Linked DNA regions of Homo sapiens: all the other regions are linked to region 4. The links are contacts of gene promoters, found by promoter capture Hi-C in human tissues and cell types (Jung and others, 2019). All regions are on one chromosome and are shown on one strand. Each heading gives the region's core, a stretch centred on a gene start or on the middle of the fragment in contact. The rest is flanking DNA. Distances are from core to core; before and after follow the strand shown.

Region 1 (4,148 bases), core at 1,272-3,771, 300 kb before region 4:
CTAGAGAGGCTGAGGCAGGAGAATCAATTGAACCCAGGAGGTGGAGGTTGCAGTGAGCCTAGATCCCCGCCATTGCAAGTCAGCCTGGGCAACAAGAGCAAAACTCCATCTCAAAAACAAACAAAAAAAAAAGTAATGCAAACTCATCTGGGTTTTGGTCATGTCCTGCATCTCCTGAGGAAGGGCAGAGGGCTGAGGAGCAGTCCTTGGGAAGCACAAACATGTGAGAATCCAGGTTGGCTCTATGCCCTACCCAGTAACGTAGCCCCAAATCTCTGCCTTAGCTGACATGGGGGCACACTGAAGTCTTGTGAAGGGTAGAAGGGACCATGTTGAGGCAGGGACAACCTTGCCTACAGGTGATTCAGGTAATCCCACAAGTTCAGCCACAGAAAACAAGCATGACCATGTGCAAAGACTTCCACGAGACCACTTGTCACAGGGTTGTTTTAATTCAAGCAACATCAACATACACCAGAAACTTGTGAAGAAAATTATGGCACATTTGTATAACTTCAGTGTCAAGAAGCCAGCGGTATTTTGCAGATAATGCAAGGTCTGTAGATCGAAAATTAAGTTGGGTGTCTTCCTTTAGTGTACAAACACCTTGGATGTTTGAGGAAATCCAAAGACAAGGTTCTAGGCATTTTATACGTGTTAACTCATGTATTATGTTAATTCTCACAATAATCCTTTGGAACTAGTACGATCACCATCCCTGCCTTATTGAGGAGGAAATGGGGTACAGAGAGCTTAAGCAACTTGCCAGTGTCATGCAGCAGGGAAGCGCTGGAGGCAGGGCTCCAACCCACGCAGCCTTGCTGCATGTTTGTGGAATGAACACAGGACTCAGGCACACAACCATCTGGCTGAGGCTCCATGAGCAGCCAGGAGCCTGGTCCCAATGCAGTCTCCTTATAGGCACAAATGGGGTGCCCCTTGAGACAGGAATAATAAAGGTGGTCACAGGAGAACGGAAAATTCCAGGCAACAGTTTCACATGACTAGCAAAGGAAACCGTTGAAATCGCTGCGTAAGCTAGGGGCGGATAAGACTCTGAAAACCAGGGTGTGGGCCAAGCTGGCTAAAGCCGACTGGACCCAACATGGTGCTGGATTCGACCCGTTTCACCTAGGACCTCTCATTATGTGCTCATTAACATACTAAGTCACACACCCACTGTGACAGCTCTGGGGAACACCCGTATTTAGTATAAAAATGTGTGGCACCGCAGTACCAAGAAATGTTTACCTTTTTCCAAGAATCTTCATGAATATTCCACCCCTTGGTTAAATAAATATTTAAAGGTAGCTCCAAACCCCGCTGGGCGTGATGCTCTGTGGTATGCCTGCACTTTTCTTTCTTCAGTACGTACTTATTCCCGTCGCAATGAATCTCCACACTTTGTTCTGCTCATCCATGAATTCCTTCTCACGACAGTGTCAAGAGCCTGGACACCAGTCAGGGTCGAGGCCTCACCAGCATCTTGGGGCCTCACTGGGCACAGACGCGTGAGCGCCCGGCCTGCAGACCTGACTCTGGCAGCCGCTCAGGCCCTCAGAGGGAGAGATGGAAGCTGGCAGGACGCAGTTGCTACCGCGCGGACCCGGCCCCCGACCAGCCTTGGCCCCTCGCGCGCCGGGACAGGGCCACAAATGACTGCACCTGGGCTTCGCTGGCCCAGGCACCACGCGACTCTAAGCGCGCCCAAAGCGACCCTCTGCGCAAACTACCCCCGGGGACGACGTCACCCGTGAGGTCCCGCGGCGCCTCCTCCTAAAGCTCGGCTGGGAAACCGTCCGCTTCCCCAAGACTTGGGGGCTTGTGGCCGAGTTGTTTTAGTTTTCCTGTAGGATTCACGGGTGGCTGAGGCAAACACGCTTGAAGGCCTAAGACTTTTAAGTCTCTTCCGCACCCTCTCTTCTGTCTCTTCCACCTGGAGGATGACCGCTTTTTTGGGGGTTTTGTTGTTGTTTTGAGACGGAGTCTCGCTCTGTCGCCCAGGCTGGATTGTAGTGGCGCCATCTCCGCTCACTGCAACCTCCGCCTCCCGGGTTCAAGCGATTCTCCTGCCTCAGCCTCCCGAGTAGCTGGGATTACAGGCGCCCACCACCATGCCCGGCTGATTTTTGTATTTTTAGTAGAGACGGGGTTTCGCCACGTTGGTCAGGCTAATATCAAACTCCTGACCTCAGGTGATCCGCCCTCCTCGGCCTCCCAAAGTGCTGGGATGACAGGCGTGAGCCACCGCGCCCGGCCGGGATGACTGTTATTAACAATTCCCGGCGTGGTTTCTAGCACCAGCCCACCTACCACACCCCACCTCGCTTGAGGCTGAATGGGTAACAGGATGAACCCGCCCCTGGGCTGGTTTTCTCTGAACCCTAACTCCTGCCGTTACGCCCCACCAGCTCTAGGCCAGGAACTCTATGTGCCCCGGCCACGCTAGAGCCCGTACCTAGACCCGTAGGTCGGGAGGCCTGCGCCCGGCACTGCGCAGACGCAGCGTGCTGTGCCCAGAACTCTTCTGTTCCCAGGAGAATCAGGGGAGTCGGCGCCGGAAGGGGCGGGTCCGAGCTGAGATTTCCAGAGCCATGGGAGCCGGAAGTCCAAGGAACTGTACCTCCATCATGACGACTCCGGTTACGTAAAAACATTCAAACAGAAAATGCTGGCCAGGCTCATGCCTGTAATCCCAGCACTTTGGGAGGCCGAGGCGGGAGGATCGCTTGTGCCCAGGAGTTGGAGACCAGCCTGGGCAACATAGTGAGACCCTCCCCCCACCCATCTCTACAAAAAATTTTAAAATTAGCTAGCTGAGATCATGCCACTGCACTCCAGCCTGGACAACAAAGTGAGACTATGTCTCAAAAAAATTTAAAAATTACCCACGCCTGTAGTGTCAGATAGTCAGGAGGCAGAGGTTGGAGGATGACTTGAGCCTTGGGGATCGAGGGTGTAGTGAGGTATGATCGCACCACTGCACTCCAGCCTGGGCAACAGAGCAAGACCCTGTCTCAAAAACTATATAAAAGAAAAAAGGGCTGGGTCGGTGGCTCACGCCTGTCATGCCAGCACTTTGGGAGGCCGAGGCGGGTAGATCACCTGAGGTCAGGAGTTTGAGACCAGCCTGACCAACAAGGTGAAACCCTGTCTCTACTAAAAATACAAAAATTAGCTGGCCATGATGGTGGGTGCCTGTAATCCCAGCTACTGGGGAGGCTGAGGCAGGAGAATCACTTGAACCCCAGAGGTGGAGGTTGCAGTGAGCCGAGATCACACCACTGCACTCCAGCCTGGGCGACAGAGCGAGAGACTCCGTCTCAAAAAAAAAAAAAAAAAAAAAAAAACAGAAAAAAGGCCGGGCACGGTGGCTCACTCCTGTAATTCCAGAACTTTGGGAGGCCAAGGCGGGCGGATCAGGAGTTCGAGACTGCCTGGGCAACATAGCGAAACCCCGTCTCTACTAAAAATACAAAAAATTAGCCAGGCGTGGTGGCGGGCTCCTGTAATCCCAGCTACTCAGGAGGCTTAGGCAGGAGAATCACTTGAACCCAGGAAGCAGAGGCTGCAGTGAGCCGAGATCACGCCATTAAACTCCAGCCTCGGTGACAGAGTGAGACTCCATCCCCGCTCCGCTCCCTCACCTCCCGCCAAAAAAAAAAAAGAAAATGCACTGCAATAGAAAAATAAAAGTACTACACTTTGGTCAAACAGGGTAACTACTAGAACGTAAAATGATCTTTTTGAAACTATCCACATTTGTTACACGTGTTGAAAATGTAGGATATATATGTTATATATATACTTATATATGTTATATATACTTATATATGTTATATACTTATATATGTTATGTACTTATATATTATATATACTTATATATGTTATATCTACTTATGTTATATACTTATATATGTTATATATACTTATATATGTTATACATACTTATATGTTATATATACTTATGTTATATACTTATATATGTTATATATACTTATACATGTTATACATACTTATATGTTATATATACTTATATATGTTATATATACTTATATATGCTATATATACTTATATATGCTATGTATACTTATATATGTTATATATATACTTATATGTATGTTATATATACTTATATATGTTATATA
Region 2 (4,078 bases), core at 19-2,518, 390 kb after region 4:
GGCACTTCCCCTAGTATGGCCGAGGTCATGGAAAGCCCAATGTGGCACCTTCAGCACAGCAGAGATACCCTCTCTGAACGCACCTCATTCTTTTTTTTTTTTTTTTTTTTTTTTTTTTGATACGGAGTCTCGCTCTGTCACCCAGGGTGGAGTGCAATGGCGCGATCTCGGCTCACGCAACCTCCGCCTCCCGGGTTCAAGCGAGTCTGCTGCCTCAGTTTCCCAAGTAGCTGGGATTACAGGCATGCGCCACCACGCCTGGCTAATTTTGTATTTTTAGTAGAGACAGGGTTTCTCCATGGTTGGTCAGGCTGGTCTCTACCTCCGGACCAACCCGCCTAGGCCTCCCAAAGTGCTGGGATTACAGGAGTGAGCCACTGCACCCGGCCCCACCCTCCACTTTCTTGTATGCGTTCCTTAAATGCTTCTACAGCCATAAAGGCCTGAGGGAAGAGGCTGACTTTACAGGACTGTGTCCCTGATAGGATCTGGTAAGCTCAGGCCTCCCTGAACGCTTTTGTGTCCACGGAGCCAGGTGACCTTGGACTATTGTCTAACCTGCGTGTCTCAGCACAAAGTGTCATCTCTACCACCTATATGATCTACAAGGATTCAATCTCAAAGGGCCCCAACGTCATCCCCTCTCTACTCTGTTATTTATTTGGCCTTTAGGAAACTTTAAAAGCCTGGACTTTGATCCAGTCCCTTCTTTCTTGGAAATTCTCCTATTTCTAGTGTCCTCGCAATGATTTCACAGCCCCCAGCCTCCTTGCTTTTCCAGGAGGAGTTCCGCCTCACAGGTTGTTCCCTACAGGCGCCTGTGGACCCCAGGTTCCATCCTCCCGGATCCGTCCATCTCCAGGCCATTGCCCGCGCCCCTCCCTGTACCTGTCGCTCTCCCCACCGCATCCCACGGGTGTCTGAAACAGGGATCCCTCCCGAGAGCGCCTCAGTGTCCCGACGCCGGGTCCGGGTTGCAGAGCCGTAAACAGGTGCCGCTCCCTCGCTGCTTTAGGACTTGTGTGACTAGGAGGTGACCGGAGAGCACGGAAGGCGCCACAATTACCTGAACGGGGAACCTTAGCGCGGCCGCCGCCATGGGACCACGTGGGGTAAGCTGGGTTGAGAGCAGCGGGCGCCGTTAAAGAGCTGCAGAGTCACGTCTGTGCAAAGAGAAGAACGACTCTCGACCTCCTGGATCCAGTCACCACCACGGTCCCAACACAGCGCTCCAAGGACTCCCTAACGCCAATGGAAATGGTCGCTACTAAAGGGCGCCGGGAGTCCCGCCTCTACCTTACTTGCGCACACGGAAACGCCTTCAATGTGAACTCTCACTGGCTCTGCCGTGCTGTCATTTGACGCAGAGCTTTCTGGGTAATGTAGTTTCCCAGGTTCCAAGGCCGTAAAGAGAGAGATTCCCAGGGGCGCTTCGGAAGGAAAAGCCCAGCTCCACCTCCGGGGCCCTCAGGGAAGCCTCCTGACCCGCACGGTGGCGCGCGCCTGTAATCCCAAATTTTGAGAGGCTGAGGTGTCAGGACTGCTTGAGCCCAGGTGGTCCAGGCTGCACTGAGCTATGACTGCACCACTGCACTCCAGCCTGGGCGACAGAACCTGTCTCAAAAGAAAAAGAAATGTTAATTAAGCGTTTGTGCTGTTAAGGGAGGAGACCACCTCTCATATTGTTTTATGCCCAATTTCTGCCTCCAAAGAAACAAGTAAAAACTAAAAGGCAGAAATGAAATCCACAGGCAGACAGCCAGGTGCCAACCCTGGGCCTGGTTAAAGATCGACCCCTGACCAAACCGGTTATGTTATCTATGGATTCCAGACATTGTATGGAAAAGCATTGTGAAAATCCCTGTCCTGTTCTGTTCCGTTCTGATTACCACTGCATGCAGCCCCCAGTCGTGTACCCCCTGCTTGCTCAATCGATCACAAACCTCTCATGTGGACCCCCTTAGAGTTGTAAGCCCTTAAAAGGGACAGGAATTCCTCACTTGGGGAGCTTGGTAGTTGGAGATGTGAGTCTTGCCAAAGCTCCAGGCTGAATACAGCCCTGCGGCTTGTCCTGCTACATTTCTTGGTTCCCTGACTGGGAAGCCAGGTGATTAACAGATAGTCGAGGCAGCCCCTTAGGCAGCTTAGGCCTGCCCTGTGGAGCATCCCTACAGGGGACTCTGGCCAGCTTGAGGGACGCAGAACCTGAGAGCACTCCCGGGTAGGCAATTGCCCCAGTGGAACACCTCGCCAGAGTGGCGTGTGGCAGGCCCCCACAGAGGATCAATGCAGCGGCTGAACACTGGGAAGGAACAGGCACTTGGAGTCCGGACATCTGAAACTTGGTAAGACTAGTCTTTGGAACTTGCCCACTCCATTTGAGTGGAAGGGTGGCCTGATCACCCACGGCATGCCTGTACCGGCACTTTGGTTTTTGTTTTTGACTTGATTTGGATTGCTTGATACTTTCGTTTTGGTTTTGACCTGGCTTGGATTTCTGGATACTCTGATTTGGATTTTGATTCTGGTTTGGTGTAAACGGTAAAAGTGTATGTGTGCCCTTTTTACCTGTTCTTTGTTTTGTGGTGTGCGTGTGGTGTGAGCGTGGTGTTTTGTCTCAAAGAAGCATGGGTCAGGCACAAAGTAAGCCCACTTCACTAGGAACTATGTTGAAACATTTCAAGAAAGGATTTAAGGGAGATTACAGTGTTACTATGACACCAGGAAAACTTAGAACTTTGTGTGAAATAGACTGGCCAGCATTAGAGGTGGGTTGGTCATCAGAAGGAAGCCTGGACAGGTCCCTTGTTTGAAAGGTATTGTGTCCAGAATTGGTTCCTTCCGGTGGGTTCTTGGTCTCGCTGACTTCAAGAATGAAGCCGCAGACCCTCACGGGCAGTGTTAAAGTTCTTAAAGATGGTATGTCTGGAGTTTGTTCCTTCAGGTGTTCAGATGTGTCTAGAGTTTCTTCCTTCTGGTGGGTTCGTGGTCTCGCTGGCTTCAGGAGTGAAGTGGCAGACCTTCGCGGTGAGTGTTACAGCTCATAAAGGCAGTGCGGGCCCAAAGAGTGAGCAACAGCAAGATTTATTGCGAAGAGCGAAAGAACAAAGTTTCCACAGTGTGGAAGGGGACCTGGGCGGGTTGCTGCTACTGGCTGGCCAGCTTTTATTCCCTTATTTGACCCCACCCACATCCTGCTGATTGGTCCATTTTATACAGCGACAGAGTGAGACTCCACCTCAAAAAAAAAAAAAAAAAAAAAAAGAAGAATCTCATTTTGAAGCCAAAACCATCAGAGTGACCATTCCAATTATGTGCTGAGCATAATTCCATCTCTTAGACATCAGTGCTAACATTTCTCTGAGGCCCTAAGTTTTTTCACCATCTACTGATGTTTCCTCAGAACTACTTCTGTCAGAACTGTTGAATAATTACCTAGTCAGTGTTTTTTGTTTTTTTTTTTCACACAGAGTCTCGCTCTGTCGCCCAGGCTACAGTGCAACGGCTCAATCTTGGCTCACTGTAACCTCTGCCTCCTGGGTTCAAGTGATTCTTCTGCCTCAGCCTCCTGAGTAGTTGGGATGACAGGTGCGTGCCGCCACGCCCAACTAATTTTGTACTTTTAGTAGAGACGAGGTGTCACCATATTGGCCAGGGTGGTCTCAAACTCCTCACCTGGTGATCCACCCGCCTCGGCCTCCCAAAATGCTGAGATTACAGGCATGAGCCACCATGCCTGGCCTATCTAGTCAGTATTAATAGGCTTTCGTATCTTGCATTTTACAACTGTTTCTCTCATGTAATTTTAATTTTTCATGCAGAACACTCCCTGCTCTCTTAAGATAAATCAATGATAATCACTTCCCATCAATGACATGAACTCATGGATTTAACAAATGCCCAGTATGACCAGATGGAGAGCACTACCTTTAAGGACTGTAGCTATTACCACTATCAAGCTACCAAATCCTTTATTGTTGTTTATATATATAAAACTGACTTCAAATTCCTAAAAGGAGTTGAATATAAGTTAGAATATCAAGTAAAGGATACTAAGTGGGTAAAAGTGTGGTGCAAT
Region 3 (4,526 bases), core at 660-3,159, 460 kb after region 4:
CAGTGAGCCGAGATCACACCATTGTACTCCTGCCTGGGCAACAAGAGCGAAACTCCGTCTCAAGAAAACAAAACAAAATAAAAAATAAAGACTACATCTAACCAGGTAAGGTCACAAACAAGGAAACTCTTCCACTATCAGTTCTCACCAGAGTATTCTGTAACTGTAAAAGATTAGGCCTTCAGCAGCTCAAAACTCAGCATCTGCTGCCTAAGGCTCTGCCACCTCAAAGACTCTTCCTTGTAAGACTGCAGGCCAATTGCCCACCAACTGGCCCAGACCAAGATGCCTTTTGTCTTCCTTGCTCCCTCTAAACTGGTTCCATAACGTTTGCTCCTATATCTTTTTCCTCTTGATGCTAAGCATTATTTTGTTCCTTGTGTTGTAATGCCCAACCTTGTTTTCACTAATCCTGTTTTTAGACTCTCCCTTTTGCTCTCTTAATCACCTAGCCTCGTTTCCACATGAATAGACTCTCGCTTAGCTGAGAAAGCCAGACGAGCTCCACCTGGCCCCCTTGATTTACAAGACATTAAGGACTCCTTACCCACCCCCCTTTCCTCAAGGAGTTAACTTGTGTAAGCAGATTCTCAACATATCAAAGGAGTCCAATTAACTGATAAGGGACTGGGAACAAACCATGTATGAAGTTCCCAGGATTTTGCTCAAAAGATAACACCATAAAGCCTTGAGTTTGTGTCTGGCGTAGTGCCCATATCTAACTCTTATGAAGGATTTAGAGCGCCACACCTGGTACCTTGCCTTTTTGTAACCATTTGTCTTTTAAATTGTTTGTTTCTCTGTAACCATTTATCCTTTTAATTTTTTGCATGTTTTTACTTCTGAAGAGTTGTTGCATTTAAGCTCCCCTCCCCTTCCTAAACCAAAGTATAAAAGTTAATCAAGCCCCTTCCTCGGGGCCGAGAGAATTTTGAGCGTTAGCCGTCTCTTTGGCCGCCAGCTGAATAAAGGACTCTTAATTCGTCTCAAAGTGTGGCGTTTTTCTAACTCGCCCGGGTACAACAGTGTTATGTTTAACCTTTAACATTTACATGTTAAGTATACTATTGTGTATTGTTTGCTATATTGACTGACTTGGGGAGTGTCTTCAGCCTCTGTGCCCATGGCCAACTACCAAGTGAACTGGAATCACAAGAGAATTGCCTCCTTCGAACTCCATTTAGCTCATGGCTTTTGTTGACTCAAATATCACCTGACACTGTGCAAAGACACAAACATGCATGGACCTGATTATCTCTACCCTTACAATGCTCATGACATCCCTCCTTTCTTCGAAAATCTCCATGCCTTCTAGGGTCCTCACGTGAGTTCATAGCCCCCAGCCTGCTTGCTCTTCCAGGAGGAGCTCCGCCTCATAATTTGCTCCCAACAGGCACCTGTGGACCCCAGATTCCATCCTTCTGGCTCAGTTCACTTCCAGGCCTTTGCCCGCGCCAGTCCCTGTACCTGCCGGTCTCCCCACCGCATCCCACGGGTGTCAGAAATGGGGCCCCTCCCGCAAGCGCCTCAGTGTCCCAACGCCGGCGTCCGGGCTGCAGAGCCGTGAACAGGCGCTGCTACCTCGCTGCTTTTGGGTGACGATGAGGTGACCTGAGGACACAGAAGGCCCCACAATTACCTGAGCGGAGAGCCTCAGCGTAGCCGCGGCAGCCATCGAACCACGTGGTTTTAAGCAGAGTCGGGAGGATAGGGCGACCAGCCAGGAGATATGGGCACGACGGTCCGTATCCTGGCCCAGGAGTGGGTCACGCTGGGCGCCGTCACAGAGCTCCAGAGTAGCCTCTGTGCAGCGGAGGACAACTGCTCCCCGACTTCTGGGTTCAGTCACCACAGTGCGGACCTAGCGCTCAGGAGCCTCTCCTACAAATAAATCCAACACCAATCAAAATGGCCGCCACCAGAGGGCGCCGGAAGTCCGGACCCATTGTCACGTGCACACAGGAAACGCCTTTATTCTGAGCCCTCAGAGGTCTTCTACGCTATCATTCGAGGCTGAGTTTTCTGGGTAATGTAGTTCCCTAGGCAACAAGGAGGGTAAAGGGCGCAATTCCCAGAGGCGCTTCTGCAGGAAAAGCCCAGCTTCACCTCGGGAGTATCCTTAAGATGTGCGTCCTGACTGGTATGGTGGCTCCCGCCTGTAATTCCACCAGTTTGGGAGGCCAAGTCACAAGGATCATTTGAGGTCAGGAGTTAGAAATTAGCCTGAGCAACAAAGCAAAATCCTGTCTCTACAAAAAATAAAAAATATTAGCGGAGTGTGGTCGGGCGGGCCTGTGGTCCCAGCTGCCCTAAGGTTGGGGTTAGGGTTAGGGAGCCTGAGGAGGGAGAATCGCTTGAGCTCAGGAGTTCGAAGCTGCTGTAAGCCGAGATCGTACCACTGCATTCCAGCCTGGGCAACAGAACGAGACCTCTTATCTAAAAAATAAAAATAAGGGCCAGGTGCGGGCGGCTCACGCCCGTAATCCCAGCACTTTGGGAGGCCGAGGCAGGTGGAACACCTGAGGTCAGGAGTTCAAGACTGGCCTGGCCAACATGGTGAAACCCCGCCTCTACTAAAAATACAAAAATTAACCCACATGGTGACATGCGCCTGTAATCCCAGCTACTGGGGAGGCCGAGGCAGGAGAATCTCTTGTACATGGGAGTCAGAGGTTGCGGTGAGTGAGATCCTGCCACTGCACTCCAGCCTGGGTGACACAGCAAGACTCCATGTTGGAAAAAAAAATAAAAATAAAAATAAAAAAATAAATAAAAGATTGCAGATCTTTCTCCTAGGCAGAGGATCATCCTGCCTCTCCTTAGAACTCACATTGAGATTTCTTGGGGTTATTGGCTGTAACTGATTACCCTAGTGTATGGAAAAATATTATTTCAGAGTTAGTGTAGATGTTCCCAAAGGCTACAGATCCAAATTCACCTATCATTTCAGATGGTCCTTCAGATGCAAAATTCTTCCACTGGAAGCAAAGATTAATGCAAAGATTAATAACCATTATTGTATTGTTAAAATGAACGTGTAAACACCCAGAGGGTTCATTTTTCCTACTGCCCAGATAAAGCCAATTTATCAGGACAGGGAAATTGCAAAAGAAAAAGAGTTTTATTCACACAGAGTTGGATGAACAGCATACTGGAGTCTTACTAGTATTACTCAAATCAGTCTCCCTGAAAATTGCGAGACTGGGGTTTTTTGTTGTTGTTGTTGTTTATTTGTTTGTTTGTTTTCTGAGACAGAATTTTGCTCCTGTTGCCCAGGCTGAAGTGCAATGTCACGATCTCAGCTCACTGCAACCTCCGCCTCCTGAGACTGGGGTTTTTTAAGGATAATTTGGTAGATAGGGGGCCATGAATTGGGGAATGCTGATTGGTTGGGTTGGAGATGAAATCATAGGGAGTCAAAGTTGTTCTCTTGTGCTGAGTGGGTTCTGGGGGAGAGGGAGGCACAAGACCAGATAAGCCAGTTTACCCATCTGAGTGGTGCCATCAGATCCATCAAGTTCAGGGTCTGAAAAATATCTCCAGCACCAATCTTAGCTTTTGCAATGGTGATACCATCCCTAGGAACAACTGGGGATGTTTACAGTCTTGTGGCCCCTGGCTGCATGACTCCTAAATGATAATTTCTAATCTATGGGGCCCTAATAAATCAGTAAGTTAACAGGAATTGGGAAGGAGCCAAGCTGGCAGAACAAGAACCTAACCCCATCTGCAACCTCTTTGTGGGAAGAAACCACAGCTGTCAGAAGTGTTTAACAGAGCAACTCCGTCTTGAATAGGGGTTGGATAAAATGAGGCTGAGCTGCATTCCCAGACAGTGAAGACATTCTAAGTCACAGGATGAGATAGGAGGTCAGCACAAGATACAGGCCATAAAGACGTTGCTGATAAAACAGTTTGCAGTAAAGAAGCCGGCTAAAACCCACCAAAACCAAGATGGCCATGAGAGTGACCTCTGGTCGTCCTCACTGCAACACTCCCATCAGTGCCATGACAGTTTACAAATGCCATGGCAACATCAGGAAGTTATCCTATATGGTCTAAAAAAAGGAGGCATGAATAATCCACCCTTTGTTTAGGATATAATCAAGAAATAGGGGCCAGGCGCGGTGGCTCACGCCTGTAATCCCAGCACTTTGGGAGGCTGAGGTGGGTGGATCACAAGGTCAGGAGATCGAGACCATCCTGGCTAACACGGTGAAATCCTGTCTCTACTAAAAATACAAAAAATTAGCTGGGCGTGGTGGCGGGTGCCTGTAGTCCCAGCTACTTGGGAGGCTGAGGTAGGGGAACGGCGTGAACCCGGGAGGTGGAGCTTGCAGTGAGCCGAGATTGCACCACTGCACTCCAGCCTGGGTGACAGAGTGAGACTCCGCCTCAAAAAAAAAAAAAAATCAAGAAATAACCATAAAAATGGGCAGCCATGCCAGGCATGGTGGCTCACCCCTGGAATCCCAGCACTTTGGGAGACCAAGGTGGGAGGATCATGAGATCAGGAGATGGAGACC
Region 4 (4,355 bases), core at 1,469-3,968:
TTAAAGGCTGAATAAAATTCTGTTAGTCATGTGTTGCTTAACAGTGGGGAAGTGTCCTGAGAAAAGTGTTATTAGGTGATTTTCTTTCTTTTTTTGGTGGTGGGGGGGTTGCGTGAATGCCTAGGCTGTATGGTATATCCTATAGCACCTTGCTACAAACTTGTATAGCATATTACTGTACTGAATACTGTAGGCTGTTGGAACACATGGTAAGTAATTGTTTTTAAGTATATCTAAACAGAAAAGGTACAGTAAAAATACAGTATAAAAGAAAAAATGATAGACTCACAGAGAACTTACCATGAATGAAGCTTACAGTACTGCAAGTTGCTCTAGGTGAGTCAGTGAGTGGTAAGTGAATGTGAAGGCCTAGGTTGTTACTGTGCTGTAGACTTTATAGACATTGTGTACTTAGACGACAATACATTTTTATTTTTATTATTATTTTTGAGACAGAATCTTGCTCTGTTGCCCAGACTAGAGTGCAGTGGTGCAATCTTGGCTTCCTGCAACCTCCTCCACCTCCTGGTTCAAGCAGTTCTGCCTCAGCTTCCCAAGTGTCTGGGATTACAGGCATGCACCACCATGCCCCGCTAATTTTTGTATTTTTAGTAGAGAACGGGGTCTTACCATGTTGGCCAGGCTGGTCTCAAACTCCCGACCTCAAGTGAGCCACTCGCTTTGGCCTCCCAAAGTGCTGGGATTACAGGCATGAGCCACCGTGCCCGGCTGGACAAAATTAAATTTATAGAAATTTTTCTTTAATATATTAACCTTAGCTGACCATTTTTTACTTTATAAGCTTGTATTTTTAAAAACTTTTTGACTTTTGTAATAATGTTTTGCTTAAAACATTGTACAACTGTACAAAAATATTTTTTATATCCTAACTTCTTAAATTTTTTTTGTTAAAAACTAAGATACACACATTTGTCTAGGCCGGCACAGGATCAGGATAATGTCATTTTATTCCACCTTCACAACCTGTTCCAGAAGATCTTCTGGGACAGTAACACACATGGAGCTGTCATCTAAAATAACAATGCCTTTTTCTGGAATACCTCCTGAAGGACCTGCCCGAGGCTGTGTTACAGTTTGTGTGTATGTACACCTGTATATTTATAGACATACACACAACTCCATATATACTCTACTGTTGGAGAACACCTAATGATAAAAAGTGTAGTATGCTAAGAACATAAGCTAGTAACTCGTAAGTTTTATCTACTGTACATTATTGTATATGTTATACTTCTATATGACTGGCCTCACAGTAGGTTTGTTTATACCAGCATCACCATGAATATGTGATTAATATATTGCCTTACTACTGCTATCATGTCATTAGGCAATAAGCATTTTTCAGCTTCATTGTAATTTTATGGAACCACTGTCATGAATGTGGCCCATTGTTGACTGAAAAGTGAGGTGCATGATTATATATGTATGTGCCACTTTTCCTTTCATTAGTGGACATTTGGGTTGTTTCCACTCAGCTGTTGTTAATAGCAGATGAGCATGAATGTACAAATGTTTCTTTGAGGCTGTGCTTTAAATTCCTTTTGAGGATTTACTCAGAAGTAGAATTGGTGCTTTCTATGTTTTTTTTTTGTTTGTTTGTTTGTTTGTTTGTTTTTTGAGACGGGAGTCTCGCTCTGTCGCCAGGCTGGAGTACAGTGGCCTGATCTCAGCTCACTGCAGCCTCTGCCTCCGGGGTTCAAGCAGTTCTCCTGCCTCAGCCTCCCAAGTAGCTGGGACTACAGGCATGCACCACCATGCCCAGATAATTTTTGTATGTTTAGTTGAGACGGGGTTTCACCGTGTTGGCAAGGATGGTCTCAATCTCGACCTCATGATCCACTCACCTGTCCCCCTATGTTCATTTAAAAAATATTTTTAATTTTTTAAATTTCTGACTCACAATGTTCCCATTCTATGTTAATTCTGTTTTAAAATTTTTGAGGACTCTTCTATAGCAGCTGCATCATTTTTTAATTTAACTTTATTATTAATTTTTTTTTTTAGTAGTTTTACTGGGTTGAGTTTTTTTTTTTTCTTTAGGGTTATTTGGTTTTGAGATGTAGGAGTTTTTTAGTATATGTGGGGACTTCAGAAAGTTTGTGGAAACATGAAAGTAAAGGATACAAAAAGAAAACAAGTTTTATTTCTCAACATAAGCTCCATCAAGTTCAAGACAATTTTATAAGTGATGATACCAGGCATTTAGTCCATCCCTAAAGAAGTGAGGTTCCTGGGAATTTAACCTTGTCTATGCAATCTTTTTTAATATTAACTAAAGAAAAATGGGTGCCCTTTAAAGATTTTTTAAAAGTAGGAAACAAGAAGTCAGAAGGAGCCAAATCCGGACTGTAAGGTGGATGCCTTAGGGTTATCAGAATTCTTGTAAAGTTGCAGTTATTTGATGAGAGGAATGAGCAGGAGCATTGAAGTGAAGGACTCCTGGTGAAGCTTTCCCATGGGTTTTCTGCTAAAGCTTTAGCTAACTTTCTCAAAACACTCTCATTGCGGGCGCCGTGGCTCACGTCTGTAATCCCAGCAATTTGGGAGGCCGAGTTGGGCGGATCATCTGAGCTCAGGAGTTTGAGACCAGCCTGACCAACATGGAGAAACCCCCCTCTCTACTAAAAAATACAAAAATTAGCCTGGCGAGGTGGTGCATGCCTGTAATCCCAGCTACTCAGGAGGCTGAGGCAGGAGAATCGCTTGAACCCGGGAGGCGGAGGTGGCAGTGAGCCGAGATCACACCATTGCACTCCAGCCTGGGCAACAAGAGTGAAACTCCATCTCAAATAGTAATTAATAATAAAGCCATGTTTCATCTGTACAATTCTTCAAAGAAATGCTTCAGCATCTTGATCCTACTTGTTTAACATTTACATTGAAGGTTCTGCTCTTGTCTGCAGCTGATCTGGATTCAGTGGCTTTGGCACCCATTGAGTGGAAAGTTCGCACAACTTTAATTTTTCAGTCAGAATTGTGTAAGCTGAACCAATTCAGATGTCTGTGGTGTCAGTTACTGTTTCTGCTGTTAATCATCAGTCTTCTTCAATAAGGTCATGAGCAAGATGAATTTCTTCCTCGCAAATTGTTATTAATGGTTTGCCATTGTGGGCTGCGTGGTCAACATCATCTCATCTCTTCTTAAAACGTTATCAGGCCGGGCGCGGTGGCTCACGCCTGTAATCCCAGCACTTTGGGAGGCCGAGGCTGGTGGATCATGAGGTCAGGAGATCGAGACTATCCTGGCTAACACAGTGAAACCCCGTCTCTACTAAAAATACAAAAAATTAGCCGGGCGTGGTGGCGGGCGCCTGTACTCCCAGCTACTCCGGAGGCTGAGGCAGGAGAATGGCGTGAACCCGGGAGGCGGAGGTTGCAGTGAGTGGAGATCGTGCCACTGCACTCCAGCATGGGCGACAGAGTGAGACTCCGTCTAAAAAAAAAGAAAACAGGTTATCAGTTTGTAAACTCTGATTTCTCTGGGTCATTGTGCCCATAAACTTTTCTTTTTCTTTTTTTTGAGACGGAGTCTCACTCTGTCGTCTGGGCTGGAGTGCAGTGGCGCGATCTCAGCTCACTGCAACCTCCGTTTCCTGGGTTCAAGCGATTCTTCTGCTTCAGCCTCCTGTGTAGCTGGGATTACAGGCATGCGCCACCACGCCCGGCTAATTTTTGTATTTTTAGTAGTGATGGGGTTTCACCATATTGGTCAGAATGGTCTTGAACTCCTGACCTTGTGATCCGCCCAAACTCGGCCTCCCAAAGTGCTGGGATTACAGGCGCGAGCCACCGCACCCGGCCGGTTTTACCATTTTTAGAGCCAAGCTTTACTATATATTTGATATTTGTTCTTTCTTCAACCTTAGCTGAATTCACATTCCTCTGATAGAAGGTGTTTTCAAACTGATGCCGTTCTTAGTGCCTCAAACTAGATCCTGTTCATACTTGTTAGAACAAGTTATTACAAATTCACTTTGGTGTAAAAAATTGAAATCCATACATAATTTTTTTTTTTTTTTTTGACAGAGTCTCACTAACGCTAGGTTGGAGTGCAGTGGCATGATCTCGGCTCATTGCAACCTCCGCCTCCTGGGTTCAAGCAATTCTCCTGCCTCAGCCTCTTGAGTAGCTGGGATTACAGGTGCCCACAATCACGCCCAGCTAATTTTTGTATTTTTAGTAGAGATGGGTTTTCACTCTGTTGGCCAGGCTGCTCTCGAACTCCTGACCTCAGGTGATCCACCTGCCTGGGCCTCACAAAGTGCTGTGATTACAGGCTTAAGCCACCACCCCTGGCCAATTTTTTCATAATATACATTTTTTTCTCATTTTTC
Region 5 (4,409 bases), core at 1,093-3,592, 350 kb after region 4:
GGTGAGGCTGGTCTCGAATTCCTGACCTCGTGATCCGCCCACCTCTGCCTCCCAAAGTCCTGGGATTACAGGCATGAGCCACCGCACCCGGCCAACTTTTTTGTTTGTTTGTTTGTTTGTTTGTTTGAGACGGAGTCTCGCTCTGTCCCCCAGCCTGGAGTGCAGTGGCGTGATCTCGGCTCACTGCAACCTCCGCCTCCCGGGTTCAAGCCATTCTCCTGCCTCAGGCTCCGGAGTAGCTGGGACTACAGGCGCCTGCCACCACGCCCAGCTAATTTTTTTGTATTTTTAGTAGAGACGGGGTTTCATCATATTAGCCAGGATGGTCTCGATCTCCTGACCTCGTGATCCGCCCGCCTCGGCCTCCCAAAGTGCTGGGATTACAGGTGTGAGCCACCGCGCCCAGCCAACTTTTTTTTTAAGTATAGAAAATTTTACAGGTTGGGCGCGGTGGCAGGCGCCTATAATCCCAGCTGCTCGGGGGGCTGAGACAGGAAAATCACTTGAACTTGGCCAAGAGGCGGAGGTTGCAGTGAGCCGAGATCGCAGCAATGCACTCCAGCCTGGGTGACAGAGCGAGACTCCATCTCAAAAAAAAAAAAAAAAAAAGAGGTGGAGATTTCCCAGAACTGAGGTTCCCTCCCCTTTTTAGACTATATAGGGTAACTTCCAAACATTGCCAGGGCATTGGTATACTGTCATGGCGCTGGCGGGAGTTAGTATGCTAATGCATTATAATTAGCGTATAATGAGCAGTGAGGATGACCACAGGTCACTTTCATCACCATCTTGGTTTTGGTGCGTTTTAGCCAGCTTCTTTACTGCATCCTGTTTTATCAGCAGGGTCTTTGTGACCTGCATCTTGTGCCAACCTCCTATCTCATCCTGTGACTAAGAATGCCTAACCTGGGAATGCAGCCGAGTATTTCTCAGCCTTACTTTATCCAGCCCATTTTCAAGATGGAGTCACTCTGATTCCAATGCCACTGACAATGATAAGCACTTGCCAGCAAAGAGGTGAACGCATGGATTTAAGGCACTTGAAATATCTCAGTGTAAAAGCACCCTGTGCATGTAGCAGGACGAGCCGCAGACAAAACCTCTCAGACACCGAGTTGCAGAAGGAAGGGCTTTATTCAGCTGGGAGCATTGGCCAGCTACTGTCTCAAAATCTGAGCTCCCGGAGTGCACAATTTCTGTCCCTTTTAAGGGCTCACAACACTAAAGATTTCACATGAAAGGGTCGTGATTGATTTGAGCAAGCAAGGGGTATGTGACAGGGGCTGCATGCACCGGTGGTCAGGGAGGAACAGAACAGGGCAGGGAGTTTCACAATGTTCTTCTATACAATCTAAGGAATCTATGAATAACATCGGCTTCTAAATCATAAGTTGATTTTTAACTACTGGGTTTAGGCCAGGCGGGCCTAGGCCTGGTTTCGGGCCTGGCGCGGGGTTGCCTGTCTTTGGTTTTACTTCCTTGTTGTTTTTACTGAATATAAAACAATGTGAGAGGGTCTCTCTCTTCTCTCATGCATACATACTCCATGTTTGAACACCGCAGCCATTGTCCTGTAACATAATAGCATTTGTCTCATTAGCTTTTTGATGTTGATATCAGATTTCTAGAGGAATCTGTAGGTTAAAGATATAAATAAAAGTGTTGCTAATGGGCTGAGAACGGTGGTTCACGCCTGTAATCCTAGCACTTCGGTAGACCATTGCAGGCAGATCACTTGAGGCCAGAAGTTCGAGACCAGCCTGGCCAAAATGAGGAAACCCCGTCTCTACTAAAAATACAAAAATTAGCAGGGTATGGTGGCACACGCCTGTAATCCCAGCTACTCGGATGGTTGAGGCACGAGAATCGCTTGAACCCGGGAGGCATAGGCTGCAGTGAGCCAAGATCACACCACTGCACCCCAGCCTGAGTGACAGAGAGAACTATGTCTTAAAAAAAAGACAAAAAAAAAAAAAAAAGGAAGAAGCCGAGCATCACAAATTCTGAAATAAGAAGTCTCCAAACACGCGGGCAATCAGTTGCACACAGTACCCCCAGAAATGTGCGTATGGCCTCTTCTAAGATGGGAGACCCTCCTCCGCATCTGGACCTGGAGTCGCCATTTCCTAGCGCCCCTCGCAGTGGAGCTTGCCCCTTTCTTCGGAAAGTCGGAAGAAAGCCACCTTAAGCGCTGCCCATGTCTGGGAACTACATTACCCAGAATCCGCCCTGCGAAATGGTAACGTGGCTGAGCCAATGAAGCTTCAGAGAAGCCGTGCCATTGCCGGGGCACGTAAAGTCAAGCCAGGACTTCCGGCGTCCTAGCCGTGGCAGCCATTTTGGCCTGTCAGGTCCATCCGGCGATGCTGGGTCTGGACGAGCTCGGGAGGAGTGGTTGTGGCCATTGCACACAGGCGGATCTGAGGTTCGGCGACGCCGCTGGTCGCGACCCGGGACAGGACAACGACAGGAACACCGCCGAGCCCGCGTTCCCCCCCCGCCCAGAGTCATGGCGGCAGCAGCCGCTCTGAGGGCGCCTGCTCAGGTGAGCGCTGCGACCTCCGGGCCTTACCCACCCTACCCACCCAGACCCTGAGGCCCCTGATCGTGAGGGCCGCCTCCTCGCGTCCCTGCAGCCCAGGCCTCTGTCAGGGACGGAGAGGCGCCGGCGGGTGGGATCCCTGTTTCCGACACCCAGTTGATGCGGTCGGCAGAGCGAGACTGGCGGAGGGCAAAGGCCTGCAGGCGCGACTGAGGCAGGAGGATGCGGAACACGGGGACATCGTGTGTCTACTGGGAAAGAAGTGTGATACGGAGTTATTTCTTTTTTTTTTTTTTTTTGAGACGGAGTCTCACTCTGTCGCCCAGGCTGGAGTGCAGTGGCGCGATCTCGGCTCACTGCAAGCTCCACCTCCCCGGTTCAAGCGATTCTCCTGCCTCAGCCTCCCGAGTAGCTGGGATTACAGGCATGCGCCACCACGGGGTTTCACCATGTTGGCTAGGCTGGCCTCGAACTCCTGACCTTAGGTGATCCGCCCACCTCGGCCTCCCAAAGTGCTGGGAATACAGGCGTGAGCCACCGCGCCTGGCCGAGGCGGAGTTGTTTCTTCAGTACCAGGCTGAGGGTTGAACTTTGACTGTGAGGACGCTAAAAGCCATGGACAGTTTTGAACAAAGGAGGAAATCTGTGTTAGAGTTGCGATTCCCAAAAGATGTTCGAAGGAAGAACAGAGTTGAAGGCAGTGATGAGGACATTGAGAGGTTGAATCATTGAGAGGTGACATTGAGCACTGGGCCACAAGATTAGAGACTCAGTCTGAAGTCATCTGGCTGCAGGGCCAAAAAAAGCTTACAGAGAAGCCTGAGTCTATCAAATCCGAGCACAGACACATTTGTGAAAGCCCTGCCTTTTGGCACACCTCATGGCTACAGAAGCACTTACAGAATCCACAGTAGGAAGTAGGGGATGCTCTAGTCCTTCACTGGTCCTCATCCTATCCCACATGTCTAGATCTTGGCATCTTTTTTTTTTTTCGGCGACGGGTTCTCACTCAACACCCAGGCTGGGTTGCGGTGACGCGATCACGGCGCAGCACGGCCTCGACCTCTCCGGGCTCAGGAGAGCCTCTCATCTCAGTCTCCCGAGTAACTGGCTTTTTGTATTTTTAGTAGAGGTGGGGTTTCACGGCCGGGCGCGGTGGCTCACGCCTGTAATCCTAGCACTTTGGGAGGCCGAGGCGGGCGGATCACGAGGTCAGGAGTTTGAGACCATCCTGGCTAACACGGTGAAATCCCCCCTCTACTAAAAATACAAAAAATTAGCCAGGCCTGGTGGCACACACCTGTAGTCCCAACTACTTGGGAGGCTGAGGCAGGAGAATCGCTTGAACCCGGGAGGCAGAGGTTGCAGTGAGCCGAGATCGCGCCACTGCACTCCAGCCTGGGCGACAGAGAAAGACTCCGTCTGAAAAAAAAAAAAAAAAGAGAGAGAGAGAGATGGGGTTTCGCCATGTTGCCCAGGCTAGTCTCGAACCCTTGGGCTCAAGCAGTCCTCTTGCTTCGGCTTCCCAAAGTGCTGGGATGCCAAGCAGGAACTACCGCACCTCCTAGGACACTTAAGTGCCATTTCTCCGGTCCTTCAATCTGGGGATCTTGGAAAAACCTCAAACCCCAAACCTACATCAGTGACATAGGTTATGGGGAGTTGTTGCTATGTCTGTCAACTAATGTAACACATGTGGAGGGTTCACCCAGGAACTGATACTGGGGTGTGCAAATACTTACTTAGAAGTGAAACTAGAGGGGTGAGGTGATGTTACCAATTTCTTAATAGGCGCTGTCTGGTTACTGAGTGGGCAACAGACTGTGGGGTTGAGGGAGGAGGAAGATCAAACTGGAAGCTACTGCCC

What was found. Contacts are between HindIII fragments. The study calls those that stand out against the background at their distance.
Region 1: the fragment with the promoter of USP29 here is called in contact with a fragment that was not itself captured in region 4 in 3 of the 25 tissues and cell types used here (adrenal gland, dorsolateral prefrontal cortex and psoas muscle).
Region 2: the fragment with the promoter of ZNF552 here is called in contact with a fragment that was not itself captured in region 4 in 1 of the 25 tissues and cell types used here (spleen).
Region 3: the fragment with the promoter of ZNF814 here is called in contact with a fragment that was not itself captured in region 4 in 2 of the 25 tissues and cell types used here (dorsolateral prefrontal cortex and spleen).
Region 5: a contact is called between the fragment with the promoter of ZNF586 here and a fragment that was not itself captured in region 4, in 2 of the 25 tissues and cell types used here (dorsolateral prefrontal cortex and stomach).

What each region holds. Positions count from the first base shown.
Region 1 is chr19:57,117,464-57,121,611 of GRCh38, forward strand. USP29 (ubiquitin specific peptidase 29) reads left to right here and starts at 2,522. Exons shown (of 4, transcript NM_020903.3): 1 at 2,522-2,766. The HindIII fragment of the contact is 14,839 bases long and covers 1-4,148 here.
Region 2 is chr19:57,813,645-57,817,722 of GRCh38, forward strand. It overlaps ZNF552 (zinc finger protein 552), which reads right to left and starts at 1,269. Exons shown (of 3, transcript NM_024762.3): 1 at 1,067-1,269. The coding sequence starts at 1,099. RefSeq lists an enhancer at 1,544-1,593. The HindIII fragment of the contact is 37,727 bases long and covers 1-4,078 here.
Region 3 is chr19:57,887,128-57,891,653 of GRCh38, forward strand. ZNF814 (zinc finger protein 814) reads right to left here and starts at 1,910. Exons shown (of 3, transcript NM_001144989.2): 1 at 1,640-1,910. The coding sequence starts at 1,675. RefSeq lists enhancers at 54-786, 811-1,354, 1,355-1,897, 1,571-1,620. The HindIII fragment of the contact is 24,676 bases long and covers 1-4,526 here.
Region 4 is chr19:57,421,894-57,426,248 of GRCh38, forward strand. It overlaps ZNF17 (zinc finger protein 17), which reads left to right. Exons shown (of 4, transcript NM_001330617.2): 4 at 1-41. Among named protein-coding and RNA genes, the nearest start is that of ZNF749, 11 kb to the right of the region's middle. The HindIII fragment of the contact is 4,324 bases long and covers 557-4,355 here.
Region 5 is chr19:57,767,334-57,771,742 of GRCh38, forward strand. It overlaps ZNF586 (zinc finger protein 586), which reads left to right and starts at 2,343. Exons shown (of 3, transcript NM_017652.4): 1 at 2,343-2,545. The coding sequence starts at 2,510. RefSeq lists enhancers at 2,067-2,606, 2,328-2,577. The HindIII fragment of the contact is 4,771 bases long and covers 1,024-4,409 here.